Linked DNA regions of Homo sapiens: all the other regions are linked to region 4. Evidence: promoter capture Hi-C in 16 types of primary human blood cells and fetal thymus (Javierre and others, 2016). All regions are on one chromosome and are shown on one strand. Each heading gives the region's core, a stretch centred on a gene start or on the middle of the fragment in contact. The rest is flanking DNA. Distances are from core to core; before and after follow the strand shown.

Region 1 (2,700 bases), core at 106-2,605, 130 kb after region 4:
CTCAGGCTGGAGTGCAATGGCACGATCTCAGCTCACCGCAACCTGCACCTCCCAGATTCAAGCAATTCTCTTGCCTCAGCCTCCAGATTAGCTGGGATTACAGGCGCCTGCCACTATGCCCTGCTAATTTTTGTATTTTTAGTAGAGACGGTGTTTCTCCATGTTGGTCAGGCTGGTCTCGACCTCCCGACCTCAGGTGATCTGCCCACCTCAGCCTCCCAAAGTGCTGGGATTACAGGTGTGAGCCACCGTGCCCAGCTTTTTTTTTTGTTTTTGAGACAGAGTATCACTGTCACCCAGGCTGGAGTGCAGTGGTGTGATCTCGGCTCACTGCAACCTCCACTTCCCAGGTTCAAGTGGTTCTCATGCCTCAGCCTCTGGAATAATTGGTATTACAGGCGTGCACCACCACGCCTGACTGATTTTTGTATTTTAGTAGAGATGGGGTTTCACCATGTTGGCCAGGCTGGTTTCGAACTCCTAACCTCAGGTGATCCACCCACCTCGGCCTCTGAAAGTGGATTACAGGATTACAGGTGTGAGCCACTGCACCTGGCCAAGGGGACAATTTCAACTATCTTTAACATAGTTGGTGACGAAGAAAACAGAATGCCTCTTAGTGGCCAGAATATATGTCATGACGTACATGCAATAAAGTCCACACACATTAGTCACAGAGGAGACTGACTCAAAGGCCACTTAAACACAGTGCAAAGCAGCAGCACCAGAACTCACACACCCTGGATGGGGGCCGTGTAAGAAGTACCTTGATTGATGGCCAGTATCTCTGAATGATAGTTTTTCCCATTCTGGTTTCTGACCATGTATTCCTGGATTGGCAAGCGTGCGGTCTTGACAGAGTATTCCCGGGCCTTTTGAAATGTCACCTTCTGTAAATATATAGTTAAATATTTTTCTTATAAAAATTATACATGAGTATATTCTCAATGTAATACAGCATTAAAAATAAGTAGCCTATTGTGGAATGGAAGAAACTGCAGATAATGAGTTAACTGTCTCAAGAGCTTATGTGACAATATCTTACTTTTTGGGGGGTCACTCATCCACAGTCCTCCACTCACTGCCACTTAGAACCAAGAGGGAAATAAGCAAAAGAGGCACATCTGCAGCCACAGTAGGCATCAAAAGGCCCAAGCAGTCTAATCAATCAGAGCACATTCTGAGCCCTAACTCAGTAAGACCCAATTCTGGATATCTGGAACTTCCAGCTCATTGCCAAAAGGCAGCATCAAATTAGAGGAAAAGGTAGACAAGATTCAAGACAGGTGCACCACTGCAACAAGTGGCATTAGGGTGTGAGAAGAGAGAGCCCAATTAAAAGAAAGGGGCCAGGTGAAGTGCCTCACACAACACTTTGAGGCCAAGGCCAGAGGACTGCTTGAGCCCAGGAGTTCAAGACCAGCCTGAGCAACATAGGGAGATCCTGTCTCTACAAATAACAAAAAAAAAATTAACAGGGTGTGCTGGTGTGTGCCTGTAGTCCCAGCTACTCTGGAGGCTGAAGTTGGATGATCACTTGAGCCTGGGACATATATCAAGGCTGCAATGAGCTGTGACTGCACCACTGCACTCCAGCCTGGGTGACAGAGGAGACCCTGTCTCAAAAATATAAAAGGGCGGGCTCTGAAAACTGCAAAAAGGAGTCACAAGAAGTCCATCAACTTGAGGCCATTTAGTGTCAGAGTACAGAAACTGATGTCCCTTTATAAGATGTTCCTTAGTCATGAAGTCCCTCAGACTGAGTCATGACTCAGTCAGATTACATTTGCTGCCTTGTAAGAAGCACAGGAAAGATTTTCTACCTAAGACTTCAGGATTAAAGAGAAAGGTTCAGATTACTGGGATAATTAACATGCCAAGGCTTGGAAGGGGTCTCAATAGTGTTAACTGTATCACTCTAACCACCCATTCATTGTCTGTTCTCTATGACTTCTCCAAGAGGCCATGTGGCCACTCAATGGACAGCTCTTGTGACAGGGAGTTCATGCATCCTGGGACAACCCACTCCAGTTTTGATAGTACCAGCTGATAGGAAATTCTTCTTGATCTTGAGCAAAATTCTGTTTTCTTTGAGACTTCCACTCATTCATCCTAGGTCTATTCCCCCAAGGCCAAACCATGCAAGTAAGATGGCCCTTCCAAAAGATGGCCATTCAGAAACTTGAAGGCAGTGATCATGCCCCTAGGAATCCTCTAGTCTCCAGATTGTAGCCTCAGTTCTGTCAACTCTTCTTTGAATTTCAAGTCCCTTCATCATTCAGGACAAGTTGAACTTGTTCTAAGCTAGTCCAGTATCATTTTGTTTACGGTCCCATAACTGACTGGCCATCATGAGTATGGTCTAACCAGGTGGAATAGTGTGAAGTGGACCTAGTACCTTTTCGGTGCTGACACCTGCCTCACATGAAACAAAATTTTAGATAGAACTTCCAAAAATGTTTTAAGCGATACAGGGACTTATTTGAAAGGATAAAACTCCTTTGCATATATGAGCTATATGATACGTTTGTTTTATAAAAAGTCTTATTCCTTTATAATCACTTTGAAGTACAGAATTCAAAATTAGGATATTTGGGTGTTGCCCTAGAAGAGCTTACAATTTAGTTTATGTTCTTTGCACAATGATTCATAATAAAATGACTCTCCTTGAAGAAATGTTGTTCTTAGCTTATTTCTGTG
Region 2 (2,775 bases), core at 86-2,585, 170 kb before region 4:
GGGCGCCGTGGAGCAGGGGGCGGCACTCCTCAGGGAGGCTAGGGTGGCGCAGGAGCCTACGGCCGCAGGGGGAGGCTCAGCCATGGCGGGCTGCAGGTCGGGAGCCCTGCCCTGCGGGGAGGCAGCTAAGGCCCGGCGAGAAGTCGAGCACAGCAGCTGCTGGCCCAGGTGCTAAGCCCGGGTCGGCGGGGCCGGCTGGCTGCTCCGAGTGCAGGGCCCGCTGACCCCACGCCCACCCGGAACTCGCGCTGGCCCGCAAGCGCCACGCGCAGCCCCGGTTCCCGCCCACGCCTCTCCTTCCACACCTCCCCGCAAGCTGAGGGAGCCGGAGCCGGCTCTGGCCTCAGCCAACCCAGGAAGGGGCTCCCACAGTGCAGCGGCGGGCTGAAGGGCTCCTCAAGTGCCGCCAAAGTGGGAGCCCAGGCAGAGGAGGCGCCGAGAGCGAGGGAGGGCTGCGAGGACTGCCAGCACGCTGTCACCTCTCATTACCACACACACAAAAAGGTCACTATGTGAGATGATAGGTTAACTTGCTTAATTTGACCGTAAAAATTATTTCACTATGTATATGTATATCAAGACATCATGTTATACATCTTACATATATATATTTTAAACCATAGTAAGTCTGACATGCTCCTACCTCCAGGCCAAGGCTAGCAAGCTGAAGTGGACGGAGATGTCCAGCTGTTACCTTCTGCTCTTCCACCCTCCACGATATCAATTGCTTCCATCCACTCATGCATTCAATAAATAGTTATCATGTGCCTACTATGACTACAGGCACTGTTCTGGACACTGGAGGTATGCAGTGAACAAAAGGGCAAAGATCTCTTTCCCGCTGTGGGGCAAGACAAAGAATAAACAAGAAATATATGTAAAATATACAGTAGGTGAAATGAGGAAGAGAGTTATCGGGAAAATAAAATGAGGAAGAGGGATGGCAAGTGTTGAGCAGGGACCGCAGTTCTAGACACTGTGCCCAGGGGAGGCCTCACTGAGCATGTGACATTTAAATAAAGTCCTGAAGGAAGGCACAAGTGTGCCTAGAGGCTTCAAAGAACAGCAAAGAGGCAGCCTGGCTGCAGCAGGAGAGAGAGGACAGCATAACAGGAGGTTAGGAGTTTAAGGGGACCAAGTCATATAAGGCCTTACGGGCTACTGTAAGAATTTTGGCATTTCCTGTTAGGAAAATCAGGATTCCAGGGGGGATGTGAAGAGAGGAAAGACATAATCACACCCATTTTTAACAGGATCACTGGCTGCTGGGGTGAGATGGAAGCAGGGAAGATGGATAAGAGACTCCCACAATAATCCAGGCAAGAGATGAAGGAGTCTTGGTCCAGGATGGTAACAGTGGAGGGGGTGAGTAGTGGCCAGATTCTGCATATACTTTGCCGACGGGCTGGGTAAAGTAGGAATGAACTAAGGGGTCATGGATGACAGAAGTTTTTGCTTTAGATCTTTACTGAGTTCTAATAACTCCCAAATCTACACCTCCAGTCCAGACTTGTGCCCTGACCCTCACAGCTGTTTATACAGGTAGCTAATGCCAAGTCAACCACCTTCTCCTTCCTGCAGTATCACCTTTCACTGGGAAGTGGTTGGTCACCACTCACTAAGTAGCCCAAAGGCAAAGACTTGAGAGTCAGGCAGAGTCTGTCCTCTAAAATGACTTAACACCCTTTCACTACTTCAACGTTATTTATTCATTCAACAAAAGTACTGAGTGCCTTCTGTGCATTAACTACTGTTCTCTGCACCATTTTCTGGTTCCTTAACATTCCTTTAACTGCTCTGCCTACTTTCTGTCTCTCCCCAAGAAATACAACTTCCACACTGCTTCCCAAATAATCTTTATAAAATGTAGAAAACATAAGGTAATTAATTTCCTTGCTCAAAGACCTTCAATGGCTCCCTATTGCCTACAAGATAAAAAATTCTCCTGAGTTTGATATTGAAAACTCTTCCTGATGTGGTACAGCCTACCTTTCTACCCTTACCCACCATTCCATGCATTCAGAGATTCTCAGCTACTCCACTCCACTTGACAACTCACTATGGCCCAAGTGGTTTACCACATGTTCCTGCTTCTATGCCTTTCACGATGTTGCTCTCTCTCTCTCCGCATGGAATTCTCTCGTCTACTTCTACTATATCATAATGCTACTCACTCTTCAAAGCCCAGACCAGATATCACCTCTACTAAGAACCCACTATGATCTGCCCCGCCCCATAATTAAAATCTCCCTTCCCTATAGCCCCATAGCTCTTTGTCCCTTGTTCTGTCCTGCACTTCTCTCATCTTGCCTTGTATAATTATTGGTGAGAGACTGTGGTCCAGATCATCTCTGCATCCTACAGGGCCTGGTACACAGACAGGGGACTGACGTTAACATTCAATGGACAGAACTGAATAATGTTATCTAAAAGAAGTAGATGAGGCCGGGTGCGGTGGCTCACGCATGTAATCCCAGCACTTTGGGAGGCCAAGGTGGGCGGATCACCTGAGGCCGGGAGTTCATGACCAGCCTGACCAACATGGAGAAACCCCATCTCTACTAAAAATACAAAATTAGCCCAGCATGGTGGCGCATGCCTGTAATCCCAGCTACTCGGGGGCTGAGGCAGGGGAATCACTTGAATCCAGGAGGCGGAGGTTGTGTTGAGCCAACATCACCCCATTGCACTCTAGCCTGGGCAACAAGAGTGAAACTCTGTCTCAAAAAAAAAAAGGCCAGGCGCAGTGGCTCACACCTGTAATCCCAGCACTTT
Region 3 (2,736 bases), core at 26-2,525, 240 kb before region 4:
GATCCCACGCCTGCCAAGGGCAATTCAGGTGCAGAGTGATAAGGGGTATGTGAGTGAGTGAACGTGAGGTCTGGCTGCTGCACACAGCCAGGCACTCCAGCTGCGGCAGGGCAGGCAGCTCCAGGCACTGGCATGGGTGCCGGTTCCCTGCGAGGCTACAGCTGGACCAGGCGTACTGCAAGCAGTTTCTATGGCTGGCACTGGGGAACATGGTGGTGCCTGGAAGCTTGGAGACTCCAAGAACTGCAGAACTCCAAAAAGGGTGTCACAGCCCTGGCTCAAGGAGCTCGTAGGTCTGGGATCCCCAAAGGGCTGAAACTCTTCTCTCCTTCTCTCTTCTCTCCCTCTCATCTTCCGCAATGTGGCAAGCAAAGGACATGTTTCAGTCCTGTCTGTGTTACAGTTCTTTCAGCCCTGCCACTCAGCAGGTCCCAAGTTCTTGTCCTGCATCCAGAAAGAATGAGGTATGCAGACAAGTGGAGGGTAGCAAGGTGAAGAAGTGCTTTATTGAGTGATAGAACAGCTCAGAGGAGACCCGCAGTGGGTAGCTGTCTGCAGGCAGGTCATCCCAACAAGTGTCCAGCTCTCAGCAGAGAGAAGACCCACAGTGGGTAGCTCCTCTCTGCAGACAGGTCATCTGTGCAAGTCTGGCTGAGTCTGGGGTTTTTACATGCCTCAGAGGGGAGGAAGTATGTGCTGATTGGTCCATGGGCAGCCATGGGCAGACCCAGAAAAAGCACCAAAAGTTCTCACTGTGGTCGGCAGAACTGGCAGCCTGGACCCCAGGCTGTCCCTGGCCTGAAGCGGGGGTTTCATCAGGGACACGCCCCTTTCTGCCCAGGAGCCTGTCTGTCTCCTGCTGCCATTAACCTGCCATCCACGGTGCCCACAGTGCTCAGGCTGTTCATGCTGAGGGGTGCCTGCAGACATGCCCTAGCCACCCTTATCCCTGCCTTGGCCTCTCTCCCCTGCTCATCTGCATTCAAAGTCTGGAGGGGGCTGAAGCAGCAGGGAGCTGGCGTGTTAGCACTGCCCTAAGTGTGCACACACCCAGCTGGGTCATGACAGCACCTGGGCTCAGCCACAACTTTGCTCCAAAATTGGAGTGGATGCTGGGAGTGGGAGAGGCCAGGCAGCAGGAGCAGTAACTTCAGAGCCTTCAGGGACAGGGGACTTCCTGGGCCCCTAGAGTGCAGAGAGGCCTGGGTCTGCAGCCATGGCTGGGCAGCTCCAGCTGCCCCAGTAGGGTGGGGCTCTCACACCTCCAACTTGGAAGCGGGCAGGGCTTCTGCCTGTTCCCAGCTCTCACTGGCTCTGTGGAGCGGGCAGCCCTGGCTACCCCGCCCCCACTGCAGCCAGTATCATGGCAGCAGCCAGGCCACCACCGCCATCACTAACACTAACAAAAGCTGATGAGCTAAAAACAAACAAACAAAATCTCATAATATTTTAAGAATGTTCAGGAATTTGTGTTGGGCCACATTCAAAGCTGTCCTGAGCTGCATGCAGCCCGTGGGCCACAGATTAGACAAGCTCGATTGTGCATTTCAGTAACAAAAAGTGATGCCAGGTGCATTGGCTCAAGCCTGTAATCCCAGCACTTTGGGAAGCCAAGGCAGGCAGATCACTTGAGATCAGGAGTTCGAGACCAGCCTGGCCAAAGTGGTGAAACTCCGTCTCTACTAAAAATACAAAAATTAGCCAGGCATGGTGGGGCGTGGTGGGGCTGAGGCAGGAGAATCACTTGAACCTGGGAGGCAGAGGTTGCAGTGAGCCGAGATTGCACCACTGCACTCCAGCCTGGGTGATAGAGTGAGACTCCATCTCAAAAGAAAAATAAAAAAAGTGAAAGAAACAAACAAAATTAAACGCAAATAAATTAAAAATAATGTTGTGAAAAATATGACAATCTTATAACTTTAATATATAAAGATTACTTGAAAATGAATAAAATAATATCCAAAAGAAAGAAAAATGAATATGAACAGTCAATTCCCCCCAAAAGAGGTGAATATACACACACACAGACACACACACACACACACACACAGAAATGAAGGTATGAACAGTAATAAAATAGTAGGAATCGATACTACACATGTATATATATATACACGTGTGTATATATATACATATGTGTATACATATATATATGAAGTGATCAAAGAAATCTATGAAAATTAGTAATAAAAGAAATAGAAAGTATAATACCAATGAATCTAGATATCAAATTAAATAACAGAGATTGTTTAACAATGGTGAAACTAAATGGCTGTCTGGATAAAGAAGGGGACGGTGCTCAGTAACTGCTCACCCAAAGCTTAAGCAAAATCCTTCCTCGGTCCAATCTGTTTTCAAGTCTGCAGCACATGGCAGAAATGATAACATCCAGGTCGGCATTCTGAAACCCAGCCACTGCTGTCCGGGTCACCCAGAGGGCTCCATTTGGAAGCTGAGAGGTGGAGAACCCTGAGCCCTCCATGTTCTCTATGCTACCCAGGAATTTCCATCCTGACTCATAAATTCTTTCCCACCTCCCTCATATCTGCAACCCACATCATTACCTAGAGTCTAACTCATTCAGTTCTCCCATCTGTCTTCACTCTGTATCGCCTAAGTCTTTTCAATCACTCCCTCCCCAGTTTTCTCATGTAAAAGATTGACTTTGATAATCTGATATCAGTCAATAATTTCCCAGAATGTCACAGGGCCTGAGGAAAGAGGTTTCCCTGATAA
Region 4 (2,812 bases), core at 302-2,801:
AATCTGAAATTAATTATTTATGCTTATGAACACGCTGGATGCCTGCCTGGTTTATTTATTTTTCAAATAATGCATCTGAATAGGCATTCACACAAGACAGGGCAAACATAATTTTGAGGCAAAGGCCCTTTCCAACTGTTGCCCGATTAACTGTTCTAAGCCATTGTGTAGCCTTGTCCTTATCCTGCGGAGTCCAAAATTTATCCCTCGCGTACTAATTAGATGGCAGGTGTCTGTGTCTGACAGTCAAGATTCGCATTATCCAGCCCCACCACCTGACCCTTACAATCTTATCTCCTGCTGCTATGACTTTCTCCACTGGGCCAAATTCCACTCATCCATCCTCCAAGGCCCAGTTCAAACGTCTGCTCTGTGAAGCCATCTCTGGTTCTCCCTCGAGGGGGGAGGTCCCCTCATGCTTCTGAATTTCCAGTCTTTTGTTGTTGTATCCTTCATCAGACGCTAAGCTCCCCAGGACCTGGCACGCAGTAGGTTCCTCAATGGAGCGTTTGCTGGAATGGGGGAGGGTGGTCTCCAGCTTCCCGAGAGGCACCTAAGCACGCCAGCCAAAGTGGGGCTGGGCAGAGACCAGACCCGCTTTTGGAGTCAGTGTCTACAAAGTGCTCTCGGGGGAAGGGGGCACGCGGGGAACGTCGCCCACCCGGAGCCGATCCCCCCAAGAACGCTTCACTCGGGTGGGGTTACTGCTTGGGCTCGCCCCAAGCACAGTGCGCACACTTCACACATCCGCAAGCCTCCTGAAACGCCTCTCCCCTCAGGCCGACCTTTCTGTTTCCTTCAACGCCTCCCATCTGTTGTGTGCGTTCCAGTTTCCAACTCAGAGTCAGAACCATCATTTCCAAAGACTCCTGCAACAGCCCGAGGACGCATACAAGGCATGGGTTACTTTTCAGACGGAGATTTGGGGCTCAGGGTCCAGCGACTCACCCAAGGTCACTCTCAAGAAGTATGAGGGCTATGACTTTGACCCAAGCCTTCTAACTCCCCGGGCAGCGCTCCTCCCAAGCCCCCCGCAAGCTGTCTGAGCTTCAAAGGAAAAAGTTTAAAAGTGATCCATACGTCCCAAAGCACGCACAAAGCGTTCTTCTGTAAACTGCGGCATGGGTCGCTGATAAAAGGTCCCTCTGAAGGTTTGAAGATACTCAACAAGGCTCCACAGAGGGTACTTTGGAGTTTTCCGCGAAGGCGCTCGCCCCGCAGAACCGACAAGGCCCCTAAAACCGACAATGCCCAGACGCCCCCTGCAGGCAGCGCGCTAGAGAACGCGTTGGCTGTTTCTGGCACGCTGAGGCCACCGTACGGCATCAAGGGTGAAGCATGGTGGCTAGCGGAGCCCGCATCCTGACAGGTGTGCTGGCGTGGCCCTCTACCTGCCCCGCCGCGGCGGCCTGCGGCCAGGAGAAGTAGGCTGGCGACATCTGGCGGGCCGCGGGCCGAGGGAGGGGAGGCGGGGCGGGGCGGTGTCTCCCTCACGTGACCCCAACAGCGCCCAGCGCGTCGCGCTGCGCCCCAACCTCGGGGTCGGTCACAGTCTGCGCCTGCGCGGGCCCCGGCTCGCTAGCCGTCCTGCGGGACGCCGGCGCTGATGGGTGAGTGTGGGACGAGCGTGGGGAAGCACCGGGCTTTCTTCGCATGAGGTTGGAGGGAGGGGAAACGCGCTGAAGGGCCCGCTGGGGCAGGCTGCCGCCCTGGGGGCCCATCCCTGTCTTCTGCGCGCTCCGGCTGCCCTGGCCCGGTCCCTGCGGGCCCCACCCAGGCGGCGCGGGCGGAATCAGTTCTGAGCCTCCTCGGCTCCGGGCTCCCCCGCCTGCCGCGGGTGTTTGTCCGGCTGCTGGGCGACCTTTCCCGCGAAGGCGCTGTCCCTTCATTCGGGCGCGCCCTGGGCTGGGGAGGCACCTCCCTGGTGCACAGGAACCGCAGGGGCGGGGAGGAGCCGGGAGCTGCCTGCGCCCGGGGGACAGCGGGGATGGCACCGCGCAAGGGCCTCTGCGTCCCGGGAGACTGGGATTTCGGCCTCACCTCGGGACCCCTGACTGTGAAGTGTCAGAAACGGAAGAGGACTTAGTGATCTTGTCCAACCCCCTCCCCGCCTTTCACAGGTTGGGGAAATGGACGCCTGGAGAACGGTAAGTTCAGCTACATAGCCTGGCAGTGCTTGTTCTGCGACAGCATATTGCATCGCGTTGTAGGAAGCTCACTTGTACAAGGATTTTCGGGGACGATGGTGTTGGTGGTGTTAGTCTCCATCCATTATTTGGTGTTCAGTTTAGCTAGATGGAGTATGTCAGCACCTCAACTTCCTGCAAAACCTTTGTTTTGCATCTCACAGCTCTACCTAGCTGATCTTAATTCCCACCTTCTGTTTTTCTCTACTTGTAATCTCTGAAACAGAAGCCCTTGAAATGTATAGTGACCTTGCCATTTTGAGCCGCCTCTGCCCGTGCTTTGAAAGGATTCCATAGGATCAAAAGGTGCTAGGACTCTTGAGGTCCCATAGTGGTTTAGAGCACAGGTTACCGCTTTGGAACTGGAATCACCCTTAGCGCATCTCAGGGGAAAACAAGCTAGGAGTTGACTCATCTGATCTCTCGTTTGGTAAATGAAAGCAAACTCAGATCAGTGGATTTTAAAATCAGATATTGCTTTGTCTTTATATTGGCAAGCTAGTGTCGTAACTAGGACTAGACCCAGGCTGATCTTGTTCTGAATGCTGACTCAGACCTGCTGACTAGTGGAAATTCACATCCTTTGAGAATTGGAGTCACCCTCTCCCCAGTTTTTGCAGAGACCT
Region 5 (2,700 bases), core at 18-2,517, 220 kb before region 4:
ATGCACAGGGATGGAATCAGCAAAGGAATCGGGGGCCCATCTCTTCAGGAGCAGATGAGTACAGCAGTTAGGTTGAGACCAGACTGTAGAGGGGTGTGGGATGTTTGAAAAGGAGGGTAAGGAGATAACCTTGATCCTGGGGCTTTAGAGAGCCACCGAAGTTTTTTCAGCAGGGGAGTGACAAGCTCAGATTTAAGCTTTAGAAAGATCCCATGGGTTGTTGTCAGTGTGGGGCTGAGATGGAATAGGAGAGACAGGAGGCAGAGACTGTCTGCAAGACCAAGAGAACACAGAGGCAGAAGCTATGCCAACTATCAGAACACATTTGTACATCAACGCACACACCCTAGGCTATAAGGTAGGGGAAGAAGCCAAGCGGAGTGAGTCAGAGATAGGAAATGAGGTCTGAGAAGGACTCGGCAAAAGAGAAACTCACCTTAGAAGACAAATCTGTCAAGGTAGGAAGAGAGCGAAAAGGGACTTCTCAGAAGCCCCATGAATGAGCCTCGTAATTGGAAGAGACCACAAGTGATAAATCGCCACACATCAGAGGAGGCAGGGGCCTTCAAGACTGAGAAATTCTTCATCTCCACTGTGCGGGTGGGGAAATCAAGGTCCAAAAACCATAAAGGACTTGCTGGATCCCCTGGCAAGCCTAGTCTACAATCAGGAGCTCCCACCTCCAAATTCTACAGTTCGCTCCCTCTCCCACATTTTGCCAGGTTAGTGTGTGGCCCCAACTTGCCAGGAAAAAGAATCAGAGCTGTAGAAAACACAGGAAGGTGCCTGGACTCCTAGCTCCTGTGAGAGCCAAATCTAAAGGCCAGAGATCAGAGGTAGGTGGGCCACGGTGGTATCAGGGGCTGTTCCGCCACTCAGAGTCCAGTGAGCACACAGCTAGGACAGGGGCCCTGATGGTGGAAAGAAAAGAGGGAGAAGGGGATATTTTGAAACAAAAGTTAGCAGGATCAGGTGACTGGGGCTCCAGGGTGAAAGAAAGCAAGAGCCTGGGCATGGACAAGCTCTGGCGATGTGGGACACACGTGGGATGATATTATCGTAAATGAACAAGGCCTGGTAGGAGGTGACCCCAAAGTGAGGGCACTAGCAGGATGAAGGGGGCAAAAGACAGAAGGATCTAGCCTGGAGTGAAATTATGAGCTTGGCTTGGACAGGCTGAGTTTGAAGTGATAGTGGGGCACCGATGGTGAATATCTTTGAGCCCTTACTCTATCACGTATCATGGGCACAGGGTATTTATGATATCTCCTTTAGCCTCCCAAGAGCTCCTTTGGAAGACATTATTCTTACCCCTACTGGACAGATGAGGAAACAAAGGAACAGAGCTATAAATAAATTTGTCCAAGGTTCCCAGCTTGCAAATTTCCAAGCCAGGCTGCAAACCCAGGTCGGTCTCACTGTGTTGCCTTCCATCACTAAGGAGCGAAAGAGAGGAGGTCATTGAAGAAGTCAAACCAGGTGAACACTGGAAAGTAGAGAGGAGAGAGAGAAAAGTGAGAGTACGGCAAACCCTGAGCAAGATGAAGAGTCCAGAGTGGAGTCACAGAGGGGCAGAGAGAGGTGGAGGGAGAATCAATAGAGTCTTTGTTACAGGAGCCGAAGTTGGAGAAAGTGTTCAAGCCAATGTCAAGGTGAGTCTTGAAGTCAATCCAAAGTGTCTTATGTGGTGAAGATGTAGTGATCACCATGAAACACAGAAGAACCTTGGGTAATGAGGAATCCCAGTGTTTCAGGGGCCCAGGCTGCCTGGAAGACTTAGAAGGGGCAGTTAGAGTGCAGAAGACAGTCTGGTTGGGGCAAGGTTAAAACAACCAATTCCGGCCAGGCGCAGTGGCTCACGCCTGTAATCTCAGCACTCTGGGGGGCCAAGGCAGGTGGATCACTTGAGGTCAGGAGTTCAAGACCAGCCTGGCCAATATGGTGAAACCCCATCTCTACTGAAAATACAAAAATTAGCCATGCACACCTAATGGGAGCTACTTGGGAGGCTGAGGCACGAGAATTGCTTGAACCCGGGAGGTGAAGGTTGCAGTGAGCCCAGATCATACCACTGCACTCCAGCCTGGGCGACAGAGCAAGACTCCATGTCGAAAAAAAAAAAAAAGAAAAAAGGAAAAAAAAGAAAGAAAAATCAATCCTGTGAGGACGTATCAGGAAACACACCCTGGAAAGAAAAACAGACAAACTGGACTTCAGCAAACTTAAAAATGTTTGTGCTTCAAAGGACACTATCAAGAAAGTTAAAAAGCCATGAAATGGGGGAAAAATGTTTTGCAAATCAGGTCTACAGTGGTTCATAATATTTAAGAAGCTTTAAAAACTAAACAATAAAAAACAAATACCCCAGTTACAAAGTGGACAAAGGATGTGAAGAAATAGACATTTCTCCAAAGAAGATATATAAATTGCCAATAAGCACATAAAAATTACTCAATGTTATTAGTCATTAGAAAACTGCAGGCTGGGTACAGTGGCTCATGTCTGCAATCCCAGCACTTTGGGAGGCCAAGGCAGGAGGATCTCTTGAGCTCAGGAGTTCAAGACCAGCCTGGGCAGCATAGTGAAACCCTGTCTTTACAAAAAAAATTTTTTAATTAGCCAGGCATGGTGGCACACACCTATAGTCCCAGTTACTTGGGAGGCCGAGGCAGGAGGATTGCTGGAGCCCAGGTGTTTGAG

Evidence for each region. The method cuts DNA at HindIII sites, captures the fragments that hold promoters and counts their contacts. A CHiCAGO score of 5 or more calls a contact.
Region 1: a contact is called between a fragment that was not itself captured here and the fragment with the promoter of SLC25A51 in region 4, in 1 of 17 cell types (neutrophils). The highest score is 6.2, in neutrophils.
Region 2: a fragment that was not itself captured here is called in contact with the fragment with the promoter of SLC25A51 in region 4 in 15 of 17 cell types (monocytes, fetal thymus, M2 macrophages and 12 more); the score reaches 10.2 in monocytes.
Region 3: a contact is called between a fragment that was not itself captured here and the fragment with the promoter of SLC25A51 in region 4, in 1 of 17 cell types (endothelial precursors). The highest score is 6.0, in endothelial precursors.
Region 5: a contact is called between a fragment that was not itself captured here and the fragment with the promoter of SLC25A51 in region 4, in 2 of 17 cell types (endothelial precursors and M1 macrophages). The highest score is 7.9, in endothelial precursors.

What each region holds. Positions count from the first base shown.
Region 1 is chr9:37,774,472-37,777,171 of GRCh38, reverse strand. TRMT10B (tRNA methyltransferase 10B) reads right to left here. Exons shown (of 9, transcript NM_144964.4): 8 at 767-890. Among named protein-coding and RNA genes, the nearest start is that of EXOSC3, 9.2 kb to the left of the region's middle. The HindIII fragment of the contact is 5,813 bases long and covers 1-2,700 here.
Region 2 is chr9:38,072,900-38,075,674 of GRCh38, reverse strand. LOC105376039 (a long non-coding RNA gene) reads left to right here and starts at 1,036. Exons shown (of 4, transcript XR_007061483.1): 1 at 1,036-1,116; 2 at 1,254-1,365. The HindIII fragment of the contact is 4,390 bases long and covers 1-2,775 here.
Region 3 is chr9:38,144,391-38,147,126 of GRCh38, reverse strand. No RefSeq gene overlaps it. Among named protein-coding and RNA genes, the nearest start is that of SHB, 77 kb to the right of the region's middle. The HindIII fragment of the contact is 2,094 bases long and covers 229-2,322 here.
Region 4 is chr9:37,902,866-37,905,677 of GRCh38, reverse strand. It overlaps SLC25A51 (solute carrier family 25 member 51), which reads left to right and starts at 1,551. Exons shown (of 3, transcript NM_033412.4): 1 at 1,551-1,610. It also overlaps the pseudogene PAICSP1. RefSeq lists a silencer at 1,351-2,110. The HindIII fragment of the contact is 4,581 bases long and covers 1-2,812 here.
Region 5 is chr9:38,123,745-38,126,444 of GRCh38, reverse strand. No RefSeq gene overlaps it. Among named protein-coding and RNA genes, the nearest start is that of SHB, 56 kb to the right of the region's middle. The HindIII fragment of the contact is 2,135 bases long and covers 200-2,334 here.